7 separate regions of the Homo sapiens genome follow, and regions 2, 3, 4, 5, 6 and 7 are each linked to region 1. The links are contacts of gene promoters, found by promoter capture Hi-C in blood cells and fetal thymus (Javierre and others, 2016). All regions are on one chromosome and are shown on one strand. Each heading gives the region's core, a stretch centred on a gene start or on the middle of the fragment in contact. The rest is flanking DNA. Distances are from core to core; before and after follow the strand shown. Region 1 holds the start of TGFB1I1 (transforming growth factor beta 1 induced transcript 1). Region 2 overlaps SETD1A (SET domain containing 1A, histone lysine methyltransferase). Region 3 holds the start of HSD3B7 (hydroxy-delta-5-steroid dehydrogenase, 3 beta- and steroid delta-isomerase 7). Region 4 overlaps STX1B (syntaxin 1B). Region 5 has its middle 58 kb from the start of ZNF267. Region 6 overlaps ZNF267 (zinc finger protein 267). Region 7 overlaps STX4 (syntaxin 4).

Region 1 (3,384 bases), core at 391-2,890:
GCTGGGACTACAGGTGCCCACCACCATGTCTGGCTAATTTTTTTGTGTGTTTTTAGTAGAGACTGTTTTCACCATGTTAGCCAGGCTGGTCTCGAACTCCTGACCTCAGGGGATCCACCCACCTCGGCCTTCCAAAGTGTTAGGATTACAGGTGTGAGCCACTGCTCCTTGCCTAATTACCTGTCTTTTTTGTTATTGCCATCCTAATAGGTATGATGTGGCATCTCATTGTAGTTTTGATTTGCATTTCTCTGGGGACTAATGATGTTGAGGATCTTTTCATGTAATCATTGGCTATTTATATAACTTCTTTGAACTGTCTATTCAGGTCGTTTGCCCATTTTTTCTTCTTTTTCTTTTTTATTCTTGACACAGGGTCTCCTCTGTTGCTCAGGAGTTCAGTGGCACAATCTCAGCTCACTGCAGCCTCTGCCTCCAGGTTTCAAGCAATTCTCCTGTCTCAGCCTCCCAAGTAGCTGGAATTACAGGCTCCCACCACCACGCACAGCTAATTTTGTGTTTTTAGTAGAGATGGGGTTTTGTCATGTTGGCCAGGCTGGTCTCGAACTCCTGACCTCAAGTGACCTGCCCGCCTTGACCTCCCAAAGTGCTAGGATTATAGGTGTGAGCCACCATGCCTGTCTCGCATTTTTAAAAAGCTCCCCAGGTTGTTCCGATTTGCTGCTGGGTTGATACTCACATTCCAGTGCTCAGATCTGTCCAGAAGAGTGGCTGCAGCACAGTTGTCTGTCCATAACTACCTCTATGGCCTCTCGTTTCCACCTCGTTTCTCAGGGTCTCAGTCCAGGGAAGGCCTTGCCACTTTGTGGCTGGAGACTGTGTCTTGCTTTCTGCTCTGAGTTCATCAGTAACTTGGGAAAGGGCTGTTTCAGAGCAGGCCTGGGCCACCTCAGTGCTGAGGAAGGGCTTTGTCTTGCAGGCTGGCTGGGGGTTGGTTGCCTGGGAGTGTTTTCCCCGAATTTGCAAGGGGCTTGCGCCCGGGTTCGAGTTTACGTGTGTCCATGACCAAGTCTTGGAGGGAAGGTCCTAGTGTAGAGTCTGTGGGTGGGTTCACTGTGTCTGTCCCCGTCCCTCAGATTTCTTTGTGTCTGGTATGTATGCCTCTTGGGGCCTCTATTTATCTGTCAGGGTCTCCGATGGGAGGGTCTCCGAACCTGAGGTCTAATTGAGCCTTAGAATATCACTCCTGCTACCAATCCAAAAATTCCGTCTGGGACAAGTCTCCCAGGAATGGCATGGGTGGGAGGGAGGCTCTTGTCTAGGACTCAGGCGCTAGCTTTGAGCGGTGTCTGTTTGGGGGCCTCAGTCCGTGTCTGTAAGTCTCCCTAGGGAGCGGCTCTGGGGCTTGGTCTGGAGAAGCCACTTCTCTCTGGCTCTGGCCTCCTGGGGCTCCCTGCAGCTGAGGCCAAGGCTGGGGTGTGGCCGCCTCCGCGGCAGGCCGGCGGGCTGGGCTCGGGTGGGCCGGGGCGCTCCCTCCTTTCCACGCCCCCACCTCGGGTTCCCCCGTTCATCGCCCCCCCATCCCCATCTCAGCGGGTCCCGGCTTCCTTACATGGTCACGGCCGGGCTTCCAGCTCCCGGACGTCCCCCGCCCCCCGCCCCCACCGGACACGGCCCCCGCCCTGTTCGCCCCGCGCCACCGGCCCGCGCCCCGCCATGGAGGACCTGGGTGAGTGGGGCCGGATCCCCGGGTCCGTGGCCCCTCACCGCTGCCCAGAGCTGCCTCCCCGCCGTCGCTCTCCCGCATCTCCCCATCCCTGTCTTCTTACTTCTGCTTTTCGCCTCTGCCCGCGCCTCCTTTCCAACTCCACGTCCCCCTTCCTGCCTCTCCCTTCCTGCCTTTCCTGGGCCGGCCGCTCCCTCCCTTCTTCCCTCGCTGTGCTCCTCCATCCCAGGCTGCGGCAGATGGAACGGGAGGTGCGGCGCCCGCGGGCGCCCGGGCGCGGGGCTCTGGGGAGGGAGGGGTTAAAGGGGCCTCGGCCCGGGGACCGGGAAAGTAGAGGGCACGGGAAAGTCTGGCATCAAGTTTTGGAGAAAAAAAGCGGGCCTGCCTGCACCAGAGTTTTGGGAGAGGAGGAGTTAAGGGCTCCTGAGCACAGTGAGGGTCAGGTCCTTGAGGCAAGGAAGAGAATAGTAACTCAGGAGTGCCTAGGCGCCCGCGAAGGCTTCAGGGTTTCACGCGGGTGCTCAGAGACGAAGACTGAGGGCAGGACTTCTGGGTTCTGGAAGTGAAAGGGCTCAAAAGACCCGGATCTGGGGATGCAGGGATGGAGAGAGGTGTCTTGTCCGGAAGGGGGACCCAGGTATCTCGTCCTCCCTGCGAAGCCTGGGGCTGGAAGGCTGTGCGCTCCACGGGAGAGAGGGGCTTCCGGCCCCTGGCGGTAGAGGGCGCTGCTCGGTAGGGGTAACTGACGCTGTACCGCAGATAAACAGCCAATCAGAAGGCAGGTCCCAGCGAAGCGCCAGTGAGGAGCCCAGGGCGGGACTCAGGGGCCTGGGAGTGGCCAGGCTGGGCGGGGCCTGTGTAGGTAGAGGGAGGAGTTAACCAGCATGGAAGAGAGAGCGTCCAATCAGAAAGCTGAGGGCCAGGCACTGGGCCAATGGAGCAATTTGGAGGGGAGCCAAATTTGGCTTGGGTGAAGAGCCCATTTTGACTGCATCAGAGAAGATGGGGAGAATAAAATAATCAGGAGGCTGGGTTTGTGCTTGGCTCCAAGCGTGAGCAACTGGGATATTCTGGTCATAAATATTCCTTGCTACCCTTCGAGCAGTGCTCTGCCTGGCTCTGGCCCTGTGACCTCTTCTCTTAATACTGGCTTCTGTCCTTCTCCAGTACTGCCCACTGGGAACCTTATCTTCTGATCTAACCGTGACCCTTGTCTCTCTCCCTGATGGCCTCTTCCTGCAGATGCCCTGCTCTCTGACCTGGAGACTACCACCTCGCACATGCCAAGGTCAGGGGCTCCCAAAGAGCGCCCTGCGGAGCCTCTCACCCCTCCCCCATCCTATGGCCACCAGCCACAGGTGAGATCGGATGTTGGGGACTGGGGCAGCCACTAGGGCCAGGCTCGGCCTGGTCTATGGGGATCTCAGCCTCAGTGGGGCAGAGTGCAGGCCTGTCATCCCACCTGTGCGTCTCCGCTCTGTAGACAGGGTCTGGGGAGTCTTCAGGAGCCTCGGGGGACAAGGACCACCTGTACAGGTGAGGGGCCTGGAAACCAGGGCATGGGGGCCAACTGAGTCTCAGGTGAGGAGGCTTGGATTCCCCACCCCTGAACCCAGGCTCCCACTCTGCTTCCCAGCACGGTATGCAAGCCTCGGTCCCCAAAGCCTGCAGCCCCGGCGGCCCCTCCATTCTCCTCT
Region 2 (3,213 bases), core at 1-2,500, 510 kb before region 1:
GGCACCCCCTGCTCCCAGGACACAAGCTTCTCCAGCAGCCGACAAGATACCCCATCTTCCTTTGGCCAGTTCACACCTCAGTCCTCCCAAGGAACCCCCTACACGTCTCGGGGCAGCACCCCCTACTCTCAGGACTCTGCCTACTCCAGCAGGTACAGAGCAGACCCCGCCTGGGGCCCCGCCCGCAAAGTCTGGGAGCTGCCACTGGGAAGAAGATGCCCAGAGTCTGTCTCCAAGAGGGAGTTGGAAATAATTTGTCCTAGTTTCTCTGTGGATTCAGTCAACAAATTGCTGTCCTCGGGGAACACACTAGCTAGGAACCCAACATATAGCTCTTCTTTTGGAGGGCAGCATAGAGGGGCTTTGGGCCCTGGGACCCAGTACGCTGTGGTTTGGTCATAGAGAGCTGAGTCCAGCTAACTCCCCTGCTTCTTCTCCAGCACCACTTCAACCTCCTTCAAGCCCCGGCGGTCAGAGAACAGCTACCAAGATGCCTTTTCCCGCCGCCACTTCTCTGCATCTTCAGCCTCCACAACCGCCTCCACGGCCATCGCCGCCACCACTGCAGCCACTGCCTCATCCTCCGCCTCTTCCTCCTCATTGTCCTCGTCCTCCTCGTCATCCTCTTCCTCCTCGTCCTCTCAGTTTCGTAGTTCTGATGCAAACTACCCAGCGTATTATGAAAGCTGGAATCGCTACCAGCGCCATACTTCCTACCCACCACGCCGGGCCACACGGGAGGAACCCCCTGGAGCCCCTTTTGCTGAAAATACAGCTGAGCGCTTCCCACCTTCTTACACCTCCTACCTGCCCCCCGAGCCCAGCCGGCCCACCGACCAGGACTACCGGCCTCCTGCCTCAGAGGCTCCACCCCCGGAGCCTCCAGAACCTGGTGGAGGCGGGGGTGGAGGAGGGCCCAGCCCTGAGAGAGAAGAAGTTCGGACTTCCCCCCGCCCAGCCTCCCCTGCCCGCTCTGGCTCCCCAGCCCCGGAGACCACCAATGAGAGTGTGCCCTTCGCCCAGCACAGCAGCCTGGATTCCCGCATCGAGATGCTGCTGAAGGAGCAGCGCTCCAAGTTTTCCTTCTTGGCCTCTGACACAGAGGAGGAGGAAGAGAACAGCAGCATGGTCCTTGGGGCCAGAGATACAGGGAGTGAGGTGCCTTCTGGGTCAGGGCATGGGCCCTGCACACCCCCTCCGGCCCCAGCTAATTTTGAGGATGTGGCACCTACAGGGAGCGGGGAGCCAGGGGCTACCCGGGAGTCTCCCAAGGCAAATGGACAGAACCAGGTGAGGTTGGGGTCAGCCAGAGGAGGCACCTGGGCTCTGGGAGTCAGGGTTGGGCCTAGGGGAGAGGGAAGGGAACCAGATGAGAAAGTAGGGCTTGGGTCAGGCAGAAGCCTTCTGTGACCCTCTTCTGCCCCCGCAGGCTTCTCCATGCTCTTCTGGAGACGACATGGAGATCTCCGACGACGACCGGGGTGGCTCACCCCCTCCGGCCCCGACGCCCCCTCAGCAGCCTCCGCCACCTCCCCCTCCCCCGCCGCCTCCTCCTCCCTACCTGGCGTCCCTTCCTCTTGGTTATCCTCCCCACCAACCTGCCTACCTCCTCCCACCCAGACCTGATGGGCCGCCGCCCCCTGAGTACCCCCCACCTCCTCCACCACCCCCGCACATCTATGACTTTGTGAACTCCTTGGAGCTCATGGACCGACTTGGGGCTCAGTGGGGAGGGATGCCCATGTCCTTCCAGATGCAGACCCAGATGTTAACTCGGCTCCATCAGCTGCGGCAGGGCAAGGGATTGATTGCCGCCTCAGCTGGCCCCCCCGGTGGGGCCTTTGGGGAGGCCTTCCTCCCGTTTCCACCCCCGCAGGAGGCAGCCTACGGCTTGCCGTATGCTCTATATGCACAGGGGCAGGAGGGCAGAGGGGCATACTCACGGGAGGCCTACCACCTGCCCATGCCAATGGCAGCCGAGCCCCTGCCCTCCTCCTCAGTCTCGGGAGAGGAGGCCCGGCTGCCACCCAGGGAAGAAGCAGAGCTGGCAGAGGGCAAGACCCTCCCGACAGCAGGCACCGTGGGCCGTGTGCTCGCCATGCTGGTCCAGGAGATGAAGAGCATCATGCAGCGAGACCTCAACCGCAAGATGGTGGAGAACGTGGCCTTCGGAGCCTTTGACCAGTGGTGGGAGAGCAAGGAGGAGAAGGCCAAGGTGAGGCCAGCGCCTGGGACCGGGGAGCCCTGGGCTTTGCAGGAGGAAATGGGCCTCTGGCTCCTCCAGGCTGCACAGCTCAGAGGAGACAGGTGATGGAGGCGAGTGGAGAGAGGCCGCAGGCCCTGCAGGCCACCCTGGGTGGGCAGGGGAGTTGAGGGGACAGAGAAGCAGGCACAGATGGGCCTGGGAGGCAGCAGAGCTTTGTCCTGGCTCCATTCCTTGCTGGCTTGCAGTGGACAAGGCCCTTAGCTCTCTTCAAGCTTTGGTCTTCCATTTTGCCACTTGTGAAGTGGGAATGGTGGCTATTTCTTAAGACTGGTGGGCGAAATGACAGACTTTTGAGAAAATGCCGTGCGGGGGCTGGGACAGGTGTGACCAAGATATGGAGCAGCAAGTAGATGCGTTCTGTATTCCTGGGGTCCGGGAGTAGGTCTCAGGCAGGAGGGAATGCCTGGGTTCTGGGCGCTGGGGCTCAGCCCCACTGCTGCCTGCAGCCATTCCAGAACGCGGCCAAGCAGCAAGCCAAGGAGGAGGATAAAGAGAAGACGAAGCTGAAGGAGCCTGGCCTGCTGTCCCTCGTGGACTGGGCCAAGAGCGGGGGCACTACGGGCATCGAGGCTTTCGCCTTTGGGTCAGGGCTGAGAGGGGCCCTGCGGCTGCCTTCATTCAAGGTACTCAGAACTGTCGTTTTGTGGGGTAGGGTGGGGAGAGGGAGAGGGGGCCCCCTTCCTTGGGGTAGGGGTGGTCAGGAACCATGAGTGTTTGAGTTTTTTCTTTTTTTTGAGATGGAGTCTTACTCTGTTGCCCAGGCTGGAGTGCAGTGGCCTGATCTCAGCTCACTGCAACCTCCGCCTCCCGGGTTCAAGCGATTCTCCTGCCTCAGCCTCCCGAGTAGCTGGGGTTACAGGCACCCGCCACCACGCCTGGCTAATTTTTGTATTTTTAGTAGAGCTGGGGTTTCACTGTGTTGGCCAGGCTGGTCTTGAACTCCTAAC
Region 3 (3,384 bases), core at 885-3,384, 490 kb before region 1:
GCGGCTGAGGCTCTGGAAGGGAGTGAGGTCACCCGAGGAGGGCGTGCAGAGGCTCCTCACTGTCTTCTGGGAAGTAAGGGTTGCTCCTCACACGGAGGTGCGGGGCCTGACATGGGCGGCCTGCCATTTGCATTAGCCGGTGGCAGCCAACAGGTGCCTGTTTTGGAGAGAGGTCCAGGGAGGAGAGATGAGCAGGGTGCCGTTGGTGACATGGCCAGTCATTTCAGGAGCTGCCCCAACCCCAGACTTGCCCCAGCAGTCCGGGACCCCACTGTGACCAGGCAGATGCTCGAAGGAGTCAGTGGCTCTCTTACCCAGTGCAGATTTCCCTGGAGTTCCCTGCGGGTGACTTAGAATGGCCACCAGAGGCTTAGGATGCTGCCCCAAAGAGGGAGGGCTCCTGGAAGCAGAGTCGAGAGAGTCAGTGCCGGGTTAGCGGGAGCTGGAGGCAGAGCTGCAGCTCCAGGCCTGGTGGGCGTGGACCTGGGGTGCTGGCTGGCAGGCGTGCTCAGGGGCAGGAAGTGGGGGACTCTTCCCTGACCATCGCATCTCACCCTGGCAGATGGTGGCCGACATGCGGGAGAAGCGCTACGTGCAGGAGGGCATTGGCAGCAGCTACCTGTTCCGGGTGGACCACGACACCATCATCGATGCCACCAAGTGTGGCAACCTGGCCAGATTCATCAACCACTGCTGCACGGTGCGCCAGGGGCCAGCCGGGGCAGGAGTTGGGGGTCGGTGGGGGTGGCCACGGCTCACACGCCCTTCCATCCGCAGCCTAACTGCTACGCCAAGGTCATCACCATCGAGTCCCAGAAGAAGATCGTGATCTACTCCAAGCAGCCCATTGGCGTGGACGAGGAGATCACCTACGACTACAAGTTCCCACTGGAAGACAACAAGATCCCGTGTCTGTGTGGCACAGAGAGCTGCCGGGGCTCCCTAAACTGAGGTGGGGCAGGATGGGTGCCCACACCCCTATTTATTCCCCCTGGTGCCCTGAGCTCCCAGCACCCCCCCAGCCTTAGTGGGCTCAGCAGGGCCCACATGCCCCCATCTCCAAGCGTGGGGTTGGGGGCCCCAAGCCCAGCGAGGGAGCCTCAGTCCCTGGAGGCAGCTTCTGCCTCTCCTGTCACCCCTGCCCACCACCCCCTGATTGTTTTTCTTTGCGGAGAAGAAGCTGTAAATGTTTTGTAGCAGCCAGCAGCTGTTTCCTGTGGAAACCTGGGGTGCCGGCCTGTACAGATTCTGTCCTGGGGGGCTACACAGTCCTCTTGCTTTGTGTTAATGGGGACTTCCCCTTACGCCCTGCGTGTACCCCTCCCCAGTTTAGGGGTCTCTGGGGCAGTGGCCATGTTCTCCCCCTGGGGGGGCTCTGCACCCCCAGTCCTGGGGACTCCGTGCCTGGAACCCTGCCTCATCTGTTCCTGCCAGACCCTGAGGGTCACCCTTCCACCCTGGTGTCACTCCCCGGCTCAGCCAGGCCAGGATGGCGGGGTGGGTCCCTTTTGCTGGGCTGGACTGTACATATGTTAATAGCGCAAACCCGACGCCACATTTTTATAATTGTGATTAAACTTTATTGTACAAAAGTGTTTGGTCGGTGTATTTGGGCAGGAGCGAGGGGTTGGGGGTAGAGGGCACGGAGGGTTGTGCAAGTTGAAGAGAGGGAAAAGTGGGTACCTGAAGTGTGGGGCAGGTAAAGGGGCCTTCAGGCAAGAGCCCAGACCTGCAGAGACAGTCCGAGACTGTCTCGGACCCCCTGACAGGCTGCAGCAGCCGCACCCGCACCAGGAATACCCCACCAGTGCCCGCCAGGGTGGTGCCAAGGTCAGGCCTCCCCTTCCTACAATCACAGCTGCAGCTGGACCTCCGGCCTCCTGGGAAGCCCAGCAGGAGGGAAGGCCTGAGGTCACACTGTGGGATGAGGTCACCGCTGGCTCCACCCACAGCCCCAGACCCCTTCAGCCCACTCTGCAAGTTCGAGCTTCATCCCCACCAAGTTCTCCGCTGGACCCAGATGCCAGTGGAGCACAGAGCGGCCGCCAGGGGGCGCCTTGGGGCAAGAGTGGTGGGGGTTGTGGCTGGGCGGGTCTCTGTTCCTGGAATGGGGCAGGAGGGAGAAGGAGGAGCCAGCGGAAGGACGGTGTGCGGGCCGGCCAGCCCTGGACGAAAGAAGAGGGCCCCTCCAGGCCAGTCTGGGCACCCTGGGATAGCGGCTGCAGGTAGGCAGAGGCGCTGCCAGTGCCCAGGTGGCCTTTCCCTCCATCCGGCCCTTCCCACCTTCCTATAACCTTCCCTCCACCTCCCTCAACTCCTGGCCTCCCCACCCTTTTACTGCCTTCAAATCTCTCTCCCTAAACCCTGACCCCTTCCTGCACCCCAAGCCCGCCCCTCTCTCCGTAACTCAGCCATCAGCAGGGGCAGACGGCAGGTGGCCTGGTTGCTGCAGCTCCCAGGATCAGCTCTGCCCTCCCCGCAAACGCCAGCCTCGTCACCGCTCCAGGGCACCTCCAGCAGTAACAGGTGGTTGCAGCAGGTGGCAGCCAGCCCCTGGATGAGCCAAGGTCTCTTCCCCAGCCAGGCATGGCCGACTCTGCACAGGCCCAGAAGCTGGTGTACCTGGTCACAGGGGGCTGTGGCTTCCTGGGAGAGCACGTGGTGCGAATGCTGCTGCAGCGGGAGCCCCGGCTCGGGGAGCTGCGGGTCTTTGACCAACACCTGGGTCCCTGGCTGGAGGAGCTGAAGACAGGTTCTTGTTGGGGGAGCTTGTGGTGGAGAGGGTGTGGACGCTTCCCCAACCCTTCCCAAGCTGGGATCCCCACCCCTGCAGTGGAACAGATGATGCTGGTTTCTGTCCACATGGATGGGTCGAGTGAGTCACATTGGGAACGTGACTCCAGGGTGGAAGATGAACCCAGCCTCTGGCCTCTGGCCCCAGCTCTGACATGGCCTGTGTCCTCCAACCCCGGCCAGGGCCTGTGAGGGTGACTGCCATCCAGGGGGACGTGACCCAGGCCCATGAGGTGGCAGCAGCTGTGGCCGGAGCCCATGTGGTCATCCACACGGCTGGGCTGGTAGACGTGTTTGGCAGGGCCAGTCCCAAGACCATCCATGAGGTCAACGTGCAGGGTGAGGAGCTCTGGACACTCCTGGCCATCTTGCCTGTTTGTTCCCCACTCTGTCTTTGGCCTTGACCTCCGGTGACTCCCCTGGGACAAGTTGTCCTATTGACAGCCCTGCCCCCGCCTCCCCTGACCTGTCATGGTTTTCCCTGGACCTGGGATGGGGAGGAGGAAGATGCAGAGAGGGAAGAAGCTGCAGCTTGGATACGCCTCCTCCTCTGCCAGGTACCCGGAACGTGATCGAGGCTTGTGTGCAGAC
Region 4 (3,384 bases), core at 310-2,809, 470 kb before region 1:
GATTCACTTGCTTTCATCCAGCCCCTTCCAACTTCACACCCACCTACTCTTGCTGGCTTGGATTTCCCAGTTGCAACCTGCAGCTGCTCAACCCTCCACCCGCAGGGCTCAGAGACACAAAGAGATTTACCCACCCACAGCACCACTGCCACCGACAGACAGACTCGAGACACAGACAGAAGAGCTGACACCCAAGGCACACAGGAATAGGCCCCCCCGACACCCACACGGAGATGCACTGATGCTGGCGTTCACCCGCACGCAGACTCACAGCTGAGCCGCACTGACATGTGTGGACACACTGGCTTTCAGCTGCACCCCTGAGGACATTTGGGAGGGCTCACTGGGCTTGTTCTTCCAGCTTCTCCGAGCCTCATGTCTGCACACACACTCAGAGCTGGACAGGAGAGGCTGTAGGGGAGGTGCCCTGTGCTACACACACCTGAGTCCTTCTCTGCTTGGGACAGAGGTCTGACAGCAAAATCTGAGTCCATCAAGCTTAATGACATCTGGAGCCCTGATCAGCCCCAGTGGAAATGTATACAGAGTTCATTCTGATTTCCAAAAAGAACCCAGCCAGAGCTCAGACAGAATCCAAACCCCAGAGGCTGGGTGAAATCAAGACAGGATCCAAACAGCATCCACCTGGGGGTGTACTCAGTTGGAATCCAAAAAGAAGAGCTTGCCAGGGTCCCAGCGGAACGCAGACAGGGCCTAACAGAAACCAGACAGGCTCAGACTGAACTAGCCGAGGCTCACACGGATCCCAGACAGATCCCAGACAGCTCAGATTGAACCTAGACAGGGCCAGATGGGACCTAGGTGCAGTCCACACAGCCAAAACTCAGGATCAGCAGTGCCCCACAGCCCCAGGAAAAGCCAGCACAGCCTGGGGGGCCTCCAGCTCCACGCTCCTGAGCCACCCCAGCCTCCCTGCTAAGCCCAGCCCAAATGGAACTCCAGGGAGTCTTCACACAGACGCTGGGCCCACACTGTGTCGGAAAATGTGTTCAGCACTTGTGTTGAATTTCCAGACAATCCCAACCATCCGCCTGGAAAGGGAGTTTCCTCTGTCTTGGCTCACAGCTGCCCCCAGAAAGTGGGGCGGCACAGGTGGCATAAGTTGGGGACCCTGAGAGGCTCTGGGATGCTGGGCTCACCTCTGAGGACCCATCGGCCTACCATGATGCTCTTCACTTTCTCTGTCCTCAAAATCCAGCTGTGCTACAAGGCCTCCTTCCCCTAGAGCCAAAAGCCTTCCTCTGCCCTTTCTCTCCCTTCAACCACTCACTCAGCCACCAGCCTCACGCAGGTCATGCGGCCTCTCCCTGGCCCGGGTGCCTGAGGACTTTCCTGTTCTCTGTGTCTCTCCCTTCCCCATGCTAATGTTAGGAAGTCTTTCCTAAAATCTAATTTCAATCTCTCCTGTTGTTCTTGGAGCCACCTCCCTTAGGTTCATCTCTGGAGCACCCTGGGCTACCTATTTGTTTGCCCTCAAGACAGGAAGAATGATAGAAGGCCCAAGTGTGGTTTATTTGGTATAATAAATACAAAGAGAGCTGGGAGCTAATAATCCTCTACCATTTACAAACACTTTTACATCCATAATCCGTTTTGATCCTCAGCACCACCAGCCCTGAGAGAAAAGCTGCATAAACATCATCGTCCCCATTTCACAGATGAGGGAACAGGAAGCCAGGGGGGTAAAAGGAGAGTGACTTGCCCAAGGGCACCCAGGCCACATAGGGCCAGAAAACCATGGGCATCCAGCCCCTCAAAGACCGCTGTTAGGCTCCAGACTGGGCTACCTCCCCCACTGACTTTCCGCTCCCAGTTACTTTCCCTCTCAGTGAGCGCCTGCTAAGTCCCAATCTGGGGAAGGCTCTGTGTCCGGACAACCTAGCAAAACAAGAGCACTTGATGGTATTTTTTGCGTAAGTCTTACATTCTTGTTATCTCATTTAATCTTCATTAGGACTCTGTAAGGACCATTGGCCAACATAATTATACTTATGCAAATATTTAGATGATGTTTTACAATGTGCCAGGCACTGTTCTATGTGCTCCACATATATCTATCCATTTCATTCTTACAACAGTCCCCTTGGAGGTATTATTATAGCCCCCTTTTATAGATGGGGAAACTGAGGCATAGAGCTAAATAACTCAGGCCAGTTGTAGTGGCTCACGCCTGTAATCCCAGCACTTTGGGAGGCTCTGGTGGGAGGATCACTTGAACCCAGGAGTTCAAGACCAGCCTGGGCAACATAGCAAGATCATGTCTCTACAAAAAATACAAAAATTAGCTGGGCATGGTGGTGCGCACCTGTAGTCTCAGCTACTTGGGAGGGTGAGGTAGGAGGATCCCCGGAGCTCAGGAGGTCAAGAGACTGCAGTGAGCTGTGATTGTGCCACTGCACTCCAGCCTGGGTGACAGAGCAAGACCCCGTTTCTTAAAAAAAAAAAAAAAAGAACTTGCCCCAGGTCAGCTGTTAGAAGACCATTTGGCTCTACCCCTGAGCCTAGTCTCTGCATTTGCTGAGTGGTAACAATGCCTACCACCGGCTGATTCCATGTTACAGACAAGGAAACAGGCTCAGAGAGGTTGCCTGACCTGCCTAAAGCTTCACAGCAAATGAGGCCAGAGGTAGGACCTGAACCCAGGACTGTCTGGCACTAAATGTCAGGCTCTCTCCCTTCTGTCCTGCTGACAGATGGCAGTCCCTCCTGGTCCTAAAAAGCCCACTCTGCCATGTCCTCAGGACTGCTGAACTCCTGCAGCCAGGACAGAAAATCAGTAGGAGGGGCCCAGGGCTGCAGGAAGAGCTTGGACAGGAGGCCATCCCTCCCAGCCTCCGTCTGTCTTGCTGTGTGACCCCAGGCAAACTTAGACTCCTCCCTGGGCCCCAGTTCCCTCATCACTGAAATGAGCAGACTGGTGCAAGTGCCCACCCTGCTCTGAAGGGCCCTCCGTGCTCTGAGTGATGCATATTTAGTAATGAGTACAGCATCCATTTCTGGAAGAAGTTAGGCCAGCCAAAAAGAAAGCAGGCTGTGGGCAAACCAGACTACCTAGGAAAAGATGATCAAATGTGCCCCAGTCTACTTTATGGTGGCCTCAGGTTACAGGTGAACGATTCAAGCCTCAGTTGCCTCATGTGCAAATCGAGGATGTAACATATATGTGCTGATTACCACGAGTTGGGTCCTATTACAAGTGCTTTGCATTTCTTTTTTTTTCTTTTTCCTTTTTTTTTTTTTTTTTTTGAGAGATGGGATCTCACTATATTGCCCAGGCTGGTCTCGAACTCCTGGGCTCAAGAGATCCTCTCTCCTTGGCCTCCCAAAGCGCTGGGATGACAGGTGTGAGCCACTGCACCCAGC
Region 5 (3,384 bases), core at 333-2,832, 460 kb after region 1:
GAATTACAAAACACCGCTCAAAGTAATTAGAGATGACACAAACAAATAGAAAAACATTTCATGCTCATGGATAGGCAGAATCAATATTGTTAAAATGGCCATACTGCCCATGACAATTTACAGATTCAATGCTATTTCTATCAAACTGCCAATGACATTCTTCATAGAATTAGAAACAACTATTTTAAAATTCATATGAAAAAAAAAAAGGCCAAATAGCCAAGGTAATCCTAAGCAAAAAGAACAAAGCTGGAGACATCACATTCCCTGACTTCAAACTATACTATACAGTGACTAAAACACCATGGTACTGGTCCAAAAATAGACACACAGAAGAATGGAACAAAACAGAGATCTAGAAATAATGCCATACACCTTTAATCTTCTCATCTTCAATAAAATTGACCAAAACAAGCAATGAGGAAAAGACTCCCAATGCAAAAATGGTACTGGGATAACTAGCTAGCCATGTACAGAAGAGTAAAACTGGACCCATCCCTTACACCATATACAAAAATCAACTCAAAGTGGAATAAATACTTAAATGTAAAATCTAAACCTATTAAAAACCCTGAAGACAACCTAGGAAATACCATTCTGGACATGGCCTTGGCAAATATTTTATGATGAAGACACCAAAAGCAATTGTAACAAAAAGAAAAATTGACAAATGAGACCTAGTTAAACTAAAGAGCTTCTTCACGGGAAAAGGAAATTATAAACAGAGCAAACAGACAATCTACAGAATGGGAAAATAGTATTTGTGAACTATGCATCTGACAAAGGTCTAATATTCCGCATATATAAGAAACTTAAATACATGTACAAGCAAAAACAAAAATGCCCATTAATAAGTTGGTAAAGGACATGAACAGACACTTCTCAAAAGAAGACACACACAGCCAACGAGCATATGAAAAAAATGCTCAACATCAGTAATCATTAGAAGAATGCAAATCAAAACCACAATGAGATACCATCTCTCACCAGTCAGAATGGCTTTTATTAAAAAGTCAAATAAAAAAAGATGCTGTCAAAGTTGTGGAGAAAAGGGAACGCTTATATACTGCTAGTGGGAATGTAAATTACTTCAGCCACTGTGGAGAGCAGTTTGGCAATTTCAGAAAGAACTCAAGGCAGAATTACCATTCAATCTCACAATCCCATTATTGGGTATATACCCAAAGGAATATAAATTGTTCTACCATAAAGACACATTCACATGTATGTTCATCACAGAACTATTCACAATAGCAAAGACATGGAATCAGTCTAAATGTCCATCAGTGATAGACTGGATAAAGAAAACATAGTACCTATACACCATGGAATACTGTACAGCTATAAAAAATAGTATCGTGTCCTTTGCAGCAACATGGATGGAGCTAGAGGCCATTATCTTAAATTAACTAGCACAGGAACAGAAAACCGAATATCACGTTTTCATTCATTAGGGGGAGATAAACATTGAGTATGTATGGATACAAAGAAGGGAACAACAGACATCAGGACCTACTTGAGGGTGGAGGGTAGGAGTAGGATGAGGACAAAAAGCTACCTCTCAGGTACTATGTTTATTACCTGGTTGATAAAAGAATCTGTATGCCAAATTCCTGTGACACACAAGTTACCTATATAACAAACCTGCACATGTACCCCTGAACCTAAAATAAACTTTTTAAAAAGAAAACAAGAAGAAAATCAAAGTAATAGAGTACAAAACCGGATACTAGAGAAGGGAGTAATGTAGGCAAAAAGGGCCAAAAACTGGTTTAGCACAGGTAGAAAATGAATAGAAAAATGAGAGAAGTCAGTCCTTTCTTGTGAGTAATTACTTTAAGATAAATGGGTTAAACTATTTAATGAAGACCACAGAATGAATAATAGAAACCATCGTCTAATCATATGCTGTCTACATAACATTGAAAAGCTCAAATAGTTTAAAAGTGAAAGAATCAAAAACGATATTACATGCAAATAGTAATCAAAGGAAAGGTGGTTAGTATACTCACATCAGAAAATAACAGGCTTCACATCAAAGTTGTAACAAGAGACAAAGACAATGTATTGATAATAGGGCCAATCCAGTAAGAAGATATAACAATTATAAGCATATGCATATATTACAGAAGAACCCTCAAATATATGAAAATATATTAAATATACAATATGTTAAAAATGGACAGAATTTAAGAGAAAATGAACAATTCTACAGTAACAAATAAATACCTCAATTCCACATTTTCAATAATAAATAGACACCAGCCATCAGGCAGAACATCAATAAGTAATAGGGGACTGGTAGAACGCTATAAACAAACTAGACCTAACAAATATGTATGAAAAACTCCACCCACCCCCACAAAAAAAGCAGAATACTTTCTTTTCAAGTGCACATGGAACAATTTCCAGGAGACATTATATATTATTAGGTCACAAAACAATTCTCAATTAATTTGAAAATGATTAAAGGAAATCAAAGAATTTTCTCTGGCCAAGTGGAATAACATGAGAAATCAATATCAAAAGGAAAACTAGAACATTTGTAATAGATTTAAATAAAACAATACACTCAAACAGAGGGACAAAGAGAAATCATAACAATTTTTTTTTTGAGATGGAGTCTCACTCTGTCACCTAGGCTAGAGTGCAGTGGCACAATCTCGGCTCACTGCAACCTCTGCCTCCCTGGTTCAAGCGATTCTCCTGCCTCAGCCTCCCGAGTAGCTGAGATTACAGGTGCGTGCCACCATGCTGAGCTAATTTTTTGTATTTTTAGTAGAGATGGGGTTTCACCATGTTGGCCAGACTGGTCTTGAACTCCTAACCTCAAGTGATCCACCCACCTCAGCCTCCCAAAGTACTGGGATTACAGGAATAAGCCACCACATCCAGCCCATAATGAGAATTTAAAAATACTTCGATACAAATGATATTAAAAATCTAACCTACCAAAATTTAAGAAATACAGCAAAAAGAGGAATCACAGGCAAATTTATAACTGTTAATGTTTCCATCAAAAAGATTTATATTAACCTAACGCTCTACCTAAATGAATAAGTAAAAGAACAAAGTAAATGTAAACTCACATGAGGAAAATAATAAAATTAGAGCTGAGATCAGATAAACACAATATTCAAAGACAAAAAACCAAAGAATTTTTGAAGATTTTTAATGTCAACAAATTTTAGCCAGATAAAGAAGGGAGAGAAGAATTAAATTAATAAAATGACTAATAAAGGATGTTACATTACTACAGGCCTTATAGAAATAAGAAGGATAAAAAGAGAATACTATGAACAGCTGTATGCCAAAAAACTAGATTAAAATAGGCAAACAAAGAAAATACAAAAAAAAGACATTAAAAATAGGAAATATAAAGAG
Region 6 (3,384 bases), core at 476-2,975, 440 kb after region 1:
TTATCTATGTGCTGAGAAGAATGTGTGTTCTGTAGCCATTAGATAAAATGTTCTGCAAATATTTATTAGGTATATTTGGTTTATAGCACAGATTAAGTCTGATGTTTCTTTCATGATTTTCTATCTGTAAGATCTGTACAATGCTGAAAGTGGTGTGTTGAAGTCTCAATTATTATTGTATTGGGGCCTCTCTCTTTAGCTCTAATACTCTATGTCTCAGTGCTTTAGTGTAGGGTGCATGGATATTTAAAATTGTTATATTCTCTGACTGAATTGATCCCTTTATCATAAAATGACATTTGTTCTGTCTTCACAGTTTTTATCTTGAAATATATTTTATCTGATGTAAGTATAGCTACTTTGGTTCTTTTTTTTTGTTTTCATTGGCATGGAACATTTTTCCATTCTTTTATTTTTCAGTCTATGTGTATCTTTATAGATGAAGTGTATTTCTTGTGGGCAGCAGATAATTGGGTCTTCCTTTTTCTTTTTTTCACCCATTCTATGTCATCTAATTGGAGTGTTTAGTGCATTTCCATTCAGCATTATTATTGATAAGTATGTGTTCACTCCTGCCATTTTGTTATTTGTTTTTGCATCTTCTCTTTCTTTTGTCCTTCCTTTCTGTCTTCATTTTAGTGAACATGATTTTTCTTGGTGGTATGATTTAATTTCTTGCTTTTTGGTTTCTGTGTCTGTTGTATGTTTTTTTATTTGAGGTTACCATGAAACTTACAAATACTATCTTATAACCTATTGTTTTAACTGCTGACAACTTCACACTGATTGCCTAAGTGAACAAATAAGCAATAAGAAAACTAGTAAAAACTCTACCTTTAACTTTGCTTCCCCATTTTTCAACTTTTTGTTGGTTCTCTTTATGTCTTATTGTACTGTCTTTGTCTTGAAACATTGTTGTAGTTGTATTGAGTCATCATTGAGTATTTCTACTTGAGTATTTTACACACCACAGTTACCATATTATAATACTCAGTTTTTCTCTGTGCTATTACCAATGAGTTCTGTACCTTCAGATGACTTCTTATTGTTCATTAACATTCTTTTCTTACAGATGGAAGAGAATGCCCCTTAGTATTACTTGTAGGACAGGTCTGGTTTTAATGAAATCTCTCAGTGTTTGTCTGGGAAGGTCATTTTTTTCTCCTTCATGGCTATGGAATATTTTCACGGGATAGACTATTCTAGTGTAAAAGCTTTGCTACTTCAGCACTTTAAATATGTCATGCTATTCTCTCCTGGCCTGTAAGATTTCCACTGAAAATCTGCTGCCAGACGTACTGGAGTTTCATTGTATGCTGTTTCTTTTTTCTTGCTGCTTTTAGGATCCTTTATTCTTAATTTTTGGGAGTTTGATTATTAAATGTCTTGAGGTAGTCGTCTTTGGGTTCAATCTGCTTTGTGTTCTGTAACCTGGTTGTACTTGGATATTGATATCTTTATAGATTTGGGAAGTTCTCTGATCGTATTCTTGAAACTTTCTACCCCTGTCTCTTTCTCTCTTTAAGGCTAACAACTCTTAGATTTGCCCTTTTCAGGGTGTTTTCTAAATCTTGTAGGCATACTTCATTCTTTTTTGTCTTCTCTACATATTTTCAAATTGCCTATGTTCAAGCTCAATAATTTTTTCTTTTGCCTGATCAGTTTTGCTATTAAGAGACTGATGCATTCTTCAGTATGCCAATTGCTTTTTTAACTTCAATTTCTGCTTGATTCCTTTTAATTATTTCAACCTCTTTGTTTGATTTATCTGATAGAATCTGAATTCCTTCTCTATTTTATCTTGAATTTGTTTCCTCAACACAACTATGTTGAATCATCTGTCTGAAAAGTTACTTATTTTGTTTCTCCAGGATTGGCCTCTTATGCCTTATTCAGTTTGTTAGGTGAGGCCATATTTTACTGGATGGTCTTAATGTGTAGATGTTCATCTGTGTCTTGGCATTGAAGAGTTAGGCATTTATTGTAGCCTTCGCAGTCTGGGCTTTGTGTCCACCCTTGTTGGGAAGGCTTTCCAGAATTTGAAGGTACTTGGATCTCAAACTCAATAACGTTGTTCTTGCAGACTCATAGAGGTACCATGTGGTTGGTCTTGGTTAAAATCGATGAATTATCTGGATTACCAAGCAGAGACTCTTGTTCTCTTCCCTTAGTTTCTTCCAGACGAATGGAATTTCTTTCTCTATGCTGAGCTACCTGGAGCTGGGGTGGGATGACATAAGCTTCCCTGTTGCCCCCACCACTGGGACTGTGCTAATTTAGACTTGAAGTGAGCACAGCACTGGGTGTCACCCAAGGCCCAGTGTAATTACTGCCTGGCTACCACCTAAGTTTACTCAAGACCTTAGGCCTCTACAATCAGCAGGTGGTAACCAGCCAGGTTTGTGTCTCCTCAGGGCAGTGAGTTCCCTTTGGCCCCAGGTAGGTTCAGAGATATTGTGTGGGAGCCAGGTATTGAAGTCAGAAGCCTTATTTATCTCGTGTTCTATTCTACTGCAGCTAAGCTGGCATTCAAATTACAAGACAACATCCTTACCACTCCTCCCTCCCCTTTCTGCAGGCAGAGGAGCCTCACAATGTGTCTGCCACCACCACCAGCCCACAGGGGTTTCCACTGGGCTATCACTGATGTTCACTCAACACCCAAGCACTCTTCAGTCAGCTTATGATGACTGCTTCCACAACTGGGACTTACTCTTTGGTGCAGGGCAGGTCCAGAAATGCTGACTCAGGGACCCTAAGAGTCTGCTTGGTGCTCTACCCCACTGTGGCCAAGCTGGTACCTCAGGTGCAAGACAGAATCCCATTTACTTTTTCCTCTGCTTTGCTCAAACAGAAGGTGTCTTTCACTATACCCACCACAGTGGGAAATGTTCTGGGTCACACCTGAAGCCAGCACATCTCGGAGTCCAATGTTCATGATGTGTTATTGGGGTACCACTGTAGGTTATTCAGAGACCAGCAGCTCCTAAGTCAGAAGGTGATGAATCCTGCCAGGTCTCTGCTGTGATAGGGCAGCACTGGGTTCATTGTAGTCCCCTAGTCACTGTGCTCTCCGTCTCCCAAATGAACAGATTTCTCCCCGCCATGCAGATGCTGCTGAGGGGCAAGGGCAAGGTGGCACAAGCACTCCCTTTCCTTCACTGTTGGTGTCTTAGTAGTTCACGTGCCACTTTATTGTAGTAAAGTTTGTATATCAATTGAGAAAACACGGCCTCAGGTTTTTCACTCAACTGTTGTTGTATTCTCAACTTAGCATAATTTTGTATATTAGATTTGTAAAATATATGTACCTGAATATAGTAATTGGAATTCTTAAAATTTTTATATCTTTCAGATGTGTTTTCGCATTATAACAAGGACCTG
Region 7 (3,384 bases), core at 360-2,859, 430 kb before region 1:
CTGGTGGTGCCAGGAGGAGGCAGGGATAGGGAGGGCTTTGCAGCAGCTGTAGATAGGCCTGGAAGAATGGGTAAATTCAGACAGATTTGTGAAGGCACAGTTCACCATCTGTGAAAGGTATGAGCCATTTGAGGCCCTTAGCTCCAAGCTACCACTGCAGATAGAGGTTGTATGGGATAAGTGAGCAGGGGACAAGGGACTACATGATAGAAGGGGCCTGGAAGCCATCCCCAAGGAGTCTGAACTTTTGTCAGATCAAGTCTTGCCCTTGTCTTTGTTAGTGCAATTTTTTTTTCCTGCCAGGAATGTTCTTCAGTCATCTGGGGTGGGGTGGGCAAAGGCATCCTTACCTCCCTGAACCACCCCATCCTCTGAGCAGGGGGAGATGATCAATCGGATTGAGAAGAACATCCTGAGCTCAGCGGACTACGTGGAACGTGGGCAGGAGCACGTCAAGACGGCCCTGGAGAACCAGAAGAAGGCGAGGAAGGTGAGCCTCCCAGGCCCGGCCACTGCCCCAGGCACCCTGTGTGACTTCCCTGACCCCCTCCTCTCCCACAGAAGAAAGTCTTGATTGCCATCTGTGTGTCCATCACCGTCGTCCTCCTAGCAGTCATCATTGGCGTCACAGTGGTTGGATAATGTCGCACATTGTTGGTGAGATGTTGTGGGCTGCCCCCTGGCCTGCCCCAGCCCTGGCCCCAGCCCTCCCTCCTCCCTCAGACCCTGTTCTCCCTCCTTTCCTTACAGGCACTAGGAGCACCAGGAACCCAGGGCCTGGCCTTCTCTCCCAGCAGCCTGGGGGGCAGGGCAGAGCCTCCAGTCGGACCCCTTCCTCACACTGGCCCCTATGCAGAAGGGCAGACAGTTCTTCTGGGGTTGGCAGCTGCTCATTCATGATGGCCTCCTCCTTCAGGCCTCAATGCCTGGGGGAGGCCTGCACTGTCCTGATTGGCCGGGACACACGGTTTTGTAAAAAATTAAAAAACAAAAAAAGAGCATAGAAAGCCCTGTGCACGTGTGTTCCTGGAAGGGCTGGCCCAAGGCTTCCGGGCATCCAACCTCCTTACCTCCTGGACGTCCCCAGGGCCAGGTCTGGCCCTGGCTGCTCAGGTCAAACTGCCAGGGGTGCTGTGCCCACAGCAGGCTGGTTCTGCCTTTCTGCACCCCCATAGGAATGGGTGGGCAGGGAGGGGTAACACCGGCATCTAGCTCCTGGCTCAGTACTGTCCCCGGGAAAGGACCACTGTGAGTATCTGTCTTGGAAATGATGAGGCTGACCAGGCCAGGCTGGGACGCAGGTGAGATGGGGGTTTGGGTGGCATCAGTGGGCCTTCTTGTGGCCCAGAGGAAGAGGCACCATGAAAAAATGCCTAATTGAGGCTGTCACTTTGGATGCAGTGGATAGGGATGGTCTGGTTTCAGCAGGGATGACATTGGAGTGGGATGTTAAGCTGGGGAAGAGGTTGCCAGTCAGAAAGCACAGGAGGCCGGGCCCTGTGACCAACAAAAGCATCATCTTTTACATAAGCGTTTAGGCAGGGTGTGGTGGCTCGCACCAGTAATCCCAGCACTTTGGGAGGCCCAGGCAGGAGGATCTCTTGAGCCCAGGAGCTTGAGACCAGCCTAGGCAGGATGGGGCAACCTCTTCTCTTTAGAGAATAATAATTTTACAAATTAGCCAGGCGTGATGGCAAGTGTCTGTCGTCCCAGCTACTCCAGAGGCTGAGGTGGGAGGATCGCTTGAGCCCAGGAGATTAAGGCTGCAGTGAGCCATGGTCATCCCACTGCACTCCATCCTGGGTGACAGAGCGAGACCCTGTCTCAAAAATAATAGCAATCATCATCAGTAGCAGCAGCAGCAGCAGCAGCAGCATAGAGAGCCAGTGATCCTGGATCAGTGCACCTGGTTGCTGAGGGTTACCTGGCTGAAGCAGGTGGTGGCAGCAGAAAAGCCTGACCTCTGATTTCTTCCATAAGGTACCTGAAATCCAAGCCCTGACTAAATTTCTTTTTTTCTTTTTTTTTGAGACAGAGTCTTGTTCTTTTGCCCAGGCTGGAGTGCAGTGGCACTATCTCAGCTCACTGCAAGCTCCGTCTCCCAGGTTCACGCCATTCTCCTGCCTCAGCCTCCCGAGTAGCTGGGACTGCAGGCACCCGCCACCACACCCGGCTAATTTTTTGTATTTTTAGTAGAGACGGGGTTTCACCGTGTTAGGATGGTCTCGATCTACTGACATCGTGATCTGCCCTCCTCGGCCTCCCAAAGTGTTGGGATTACAGGCGTGAGCCACCGCCTAAATTTCTAAGGGCTCCTAGTCCTGATGCCTAATTTCTGGAGTGGACGTGGCTCCTGTTCCCCGACACCTAGAGTTTTTGTTTGTTTGTTTGTTTGTTTTGAGACAGAGTCTCGCTCTGTCGCCCAGCCTGGGGTGCAGTGGCGCAATCTCGGCTCACTGCAAGCTCCGCCTCCCGGGTTCACGCCATTCTCCTGCCTCAGCCTCCAGAGTAGCTGGGACTACAGGCGCCCGCCACCATGCCCGGCTAATTTTTTTTTTTTTTTTGAGACGGAGTCTTGCTCTATCGCCCAGACTGGAGTGCAGTGGTGCGATCTCCGCTCACTGCAAACTTCGCCTCCCGGGTTCACGCCATTCTCCTGCCTCAGGCTCCTGAGTAGCTGGGACTACAGGCACCCGCCACCGCGCCCGGCTAATTTTTTGTATTTTTAGTAGAGACGGGGTTTCATCGTGTTAGCCAGGATGGTCTCGATCTCCTGACCTCGTGATCCGCCCGCCTCAGCTTCCCAAAGTGCTGGGATTACAGGCATGAGCCACCGCGCCCGGCCCCCGACACCTAGTTTTAAAGGGTAAGCCGGCTCCTGGCACCTGCCTACTTGCAGTAGGGCGGCGCCTAGCTCTGACCTCCAAGGTCTGGGGACTGCGTCGCAGCCGCCCAGTCCATCCCACTTTCAATCTTACAGGCCCCTGCTGTTGCTGCCGCTGCCGCCGCTCCCAGCTGCCCAGTCTGGCGGGCTCAGTCCCGCGTTGCCATGTGTGGGAGACCGCGTCGCGTAAGCGCTGGATGTGGCTTCGCTGATGCACATTGGACCGGGCTCTGGACTGGGCTAGGGGAAGGGCAGGAGGGCGGAATTGGGCCCGAGGGCCAGGCCTCGCCGACCCCCGACTGCGCCTCCCGGTGGCCCCGCAGCGCCTCCCGGTGGCCCTGGAGTGCAGGTCTTACCGTCCGAGATCGTCCGCAACTGGGCGAGCTGTGCATGGGGCGTGGCTAAGGCCGTGGTTTGGTTACGATTGGCCAGCGGGACTTAAGTGTTGTCTCTGAAGAGCATGGACATTAGTCTGGAGGGTCCTGGAAGAGTGATCCCCG

The links. Contacts are between HindIII fragments. The CHiCAGO score rates a contact against its expected background, and 5 or more counts as called.
Region 2: a fragment that was not itself captured here is called in contact with the fragment with the promoter of TGFB1I1 in region 1 in 6 of 17 cell types (neutrophils, naive CD8 T cells, monocytes and 3 more); the score reaches 8.9 in neutrophils.
Region 3: the fragment with the promoter of HSD3B7 here is called in contact with the fragment with the promoter of TGFB1I1 in region 1 in 4 of 17 cell types (neutrophils, fetal thymus, monocytes and 1 more); the score reaches 10.7 in neutrophils.
Region 4: a fragment that was not itself captured here is called in contact with the fragment with the promoter of TGFB1I1 in region 1 in 5 of 17 cell types (total CD4 T cells, neutrophils, total B cells and 2 more); the score reaches 8.4 in total CD4 T cells.
Region 5: a fragment that was not itself captured here is called in contact with the fragment with the promoter of TGFB1I1 in region 1 in 1 of 17 cell types (neutrophils); the score reaches 6.0 in neutrophils.
Region 6: a contact is called between a fragment that was not itself captured here and the fragment with the promoter of TGFB1I1 in region 1, in 5 of 17 cell types (neutrophils, monocytes, M0 macrophages and 2 more). The highest score is 8.0, in neutrophils.
Region 7: a contact is called between a fragment that was not itself captured here and the fragment with the promoter of TGFB1I1 in region 1, in 2 of 17 cell types (neutrophils and naive CD8 T cells). The highest score is 8.2, in neutrophils.

The regions. Positions count from the first base shown.
Region 1 is chr16:31,470,512-31,473,895 of GRCh38, forward strand. It overlaps TGFB1I1 (transforming growth factor beta 1 induced transcript 1), which reads left to right and starts at 1,641. Exons shown (of 11, transcript NM_001042454.3): 1 at 1,641-1,690; 2 at 2,930-3,045; 3 at 3,171-3,223; 4 at 3,324-3,384. The coding sequence starts at 1,678. RefSeq lists an enhancer at 1,980-2,520. The HindIII fragment of the contact is 20,246 bases long and covers 1-3,384 here.
Region 2 is chr16:30,964,172-30,967,384 of GRCh38, forward strand. It overlaps SETD1A (SET domain containing 1A, histone lysine methyltransferase), which reads left to right. Exons shown (of 19, transcript NM_014712.3): 6 at 1-152; 7 at 441-1,290; 8 at 1,430-2,215; 9 at 2,713-2,889. Among named protein-coding and RNA genes, the nearest start is that of SETD1A, 8.0 kb to the left of the region's middle. The HindIII fragment of the contact is 2,452 bases long and covers 25-2,476 here.
Region 3 is chr16:30,983,073-30,986,456 of GRCh38, forward strand. It overlaps HSD3B7 (hydroxy-delta-5-steroid dehydrogenase, 3 beta- and steroid delta-isomerase 7), which reads left to right and starts at 2,135. Exons shown (of 7, transcript NM_025193.4): 1 at 2,135-2,225; 2 at 2,581-2,752; 3 at 2,977-3,132; 4 at 3,351-3,384. The coding sequence starts at 2,587. It overlaps SETD1A (SET domain containing 1A, histone lysine methyltransferase), which reads left to right. Exons shown (of 19, transcript NM_014712.3): 18 at 563-700; 19 at 778-1,592. The coding sequence ends at 951. RefSeq lists an enhancer at 1,604-2,116. The HindIII fragment of the contact is 29,451 bases long and covers 1-3,384 here.
Region 4 is chr16:31,002,223-31,005,606 of GRCh38, forward strand. All of the region lies in intron 1 of STX1B (syntaxin 1B), which reads right to left. Among named protein-coding and RNA genes, the nearest start is that of STX1B, 6.7 kb to the right of the region's middle. The HindIII fragment of the contact is 2,126 bases long and covers 497-2,622 here.
Region 5 is chr16:31,930,453-31,933,836 of GRCh38, forward strand. No RefSeq gene overlaps it. Among named protein-coding and RNA genes, the nearest start is that of ZNF267, 58 kb to the left of the region's middle. The HindIII fragment of the contact is 8,251 bases long and covers 1-3,384 here.
Region 6 is chr16:31,911,121-31,914,504 of GRCh38, forward strand. It overlaps ZNF267 (zinc finger protein 267), which reads left to right. Exons shown (of 4, transcript NM_003414.6): 4 at 3,356-3,384. Among named protein-coding and RNA genes, the nearest start is that of ZNF267, 39 kb to the left of the region's middle. The HindIII fragment of the contact is 1,026 bases long and covers 1,213-2,238 here.
Region 7 is chr16:31,039,162-31,042,545 of GRCh38, forward strand. STX4 (syntaxin 4) reads left to right here. Exons shown (of 11, transcript NM_004604.5): 9 at 380-490; 10 at 562-657; 11 at 751-1,003. The coding sequence ends at 642. Among named protein-coding and RNA genes, the nearest start is that of STX4, 7.3 kb to the left of the region's middle. The HindIII fragment of the contact is 8,081 bases long and covers 1-3,384 here.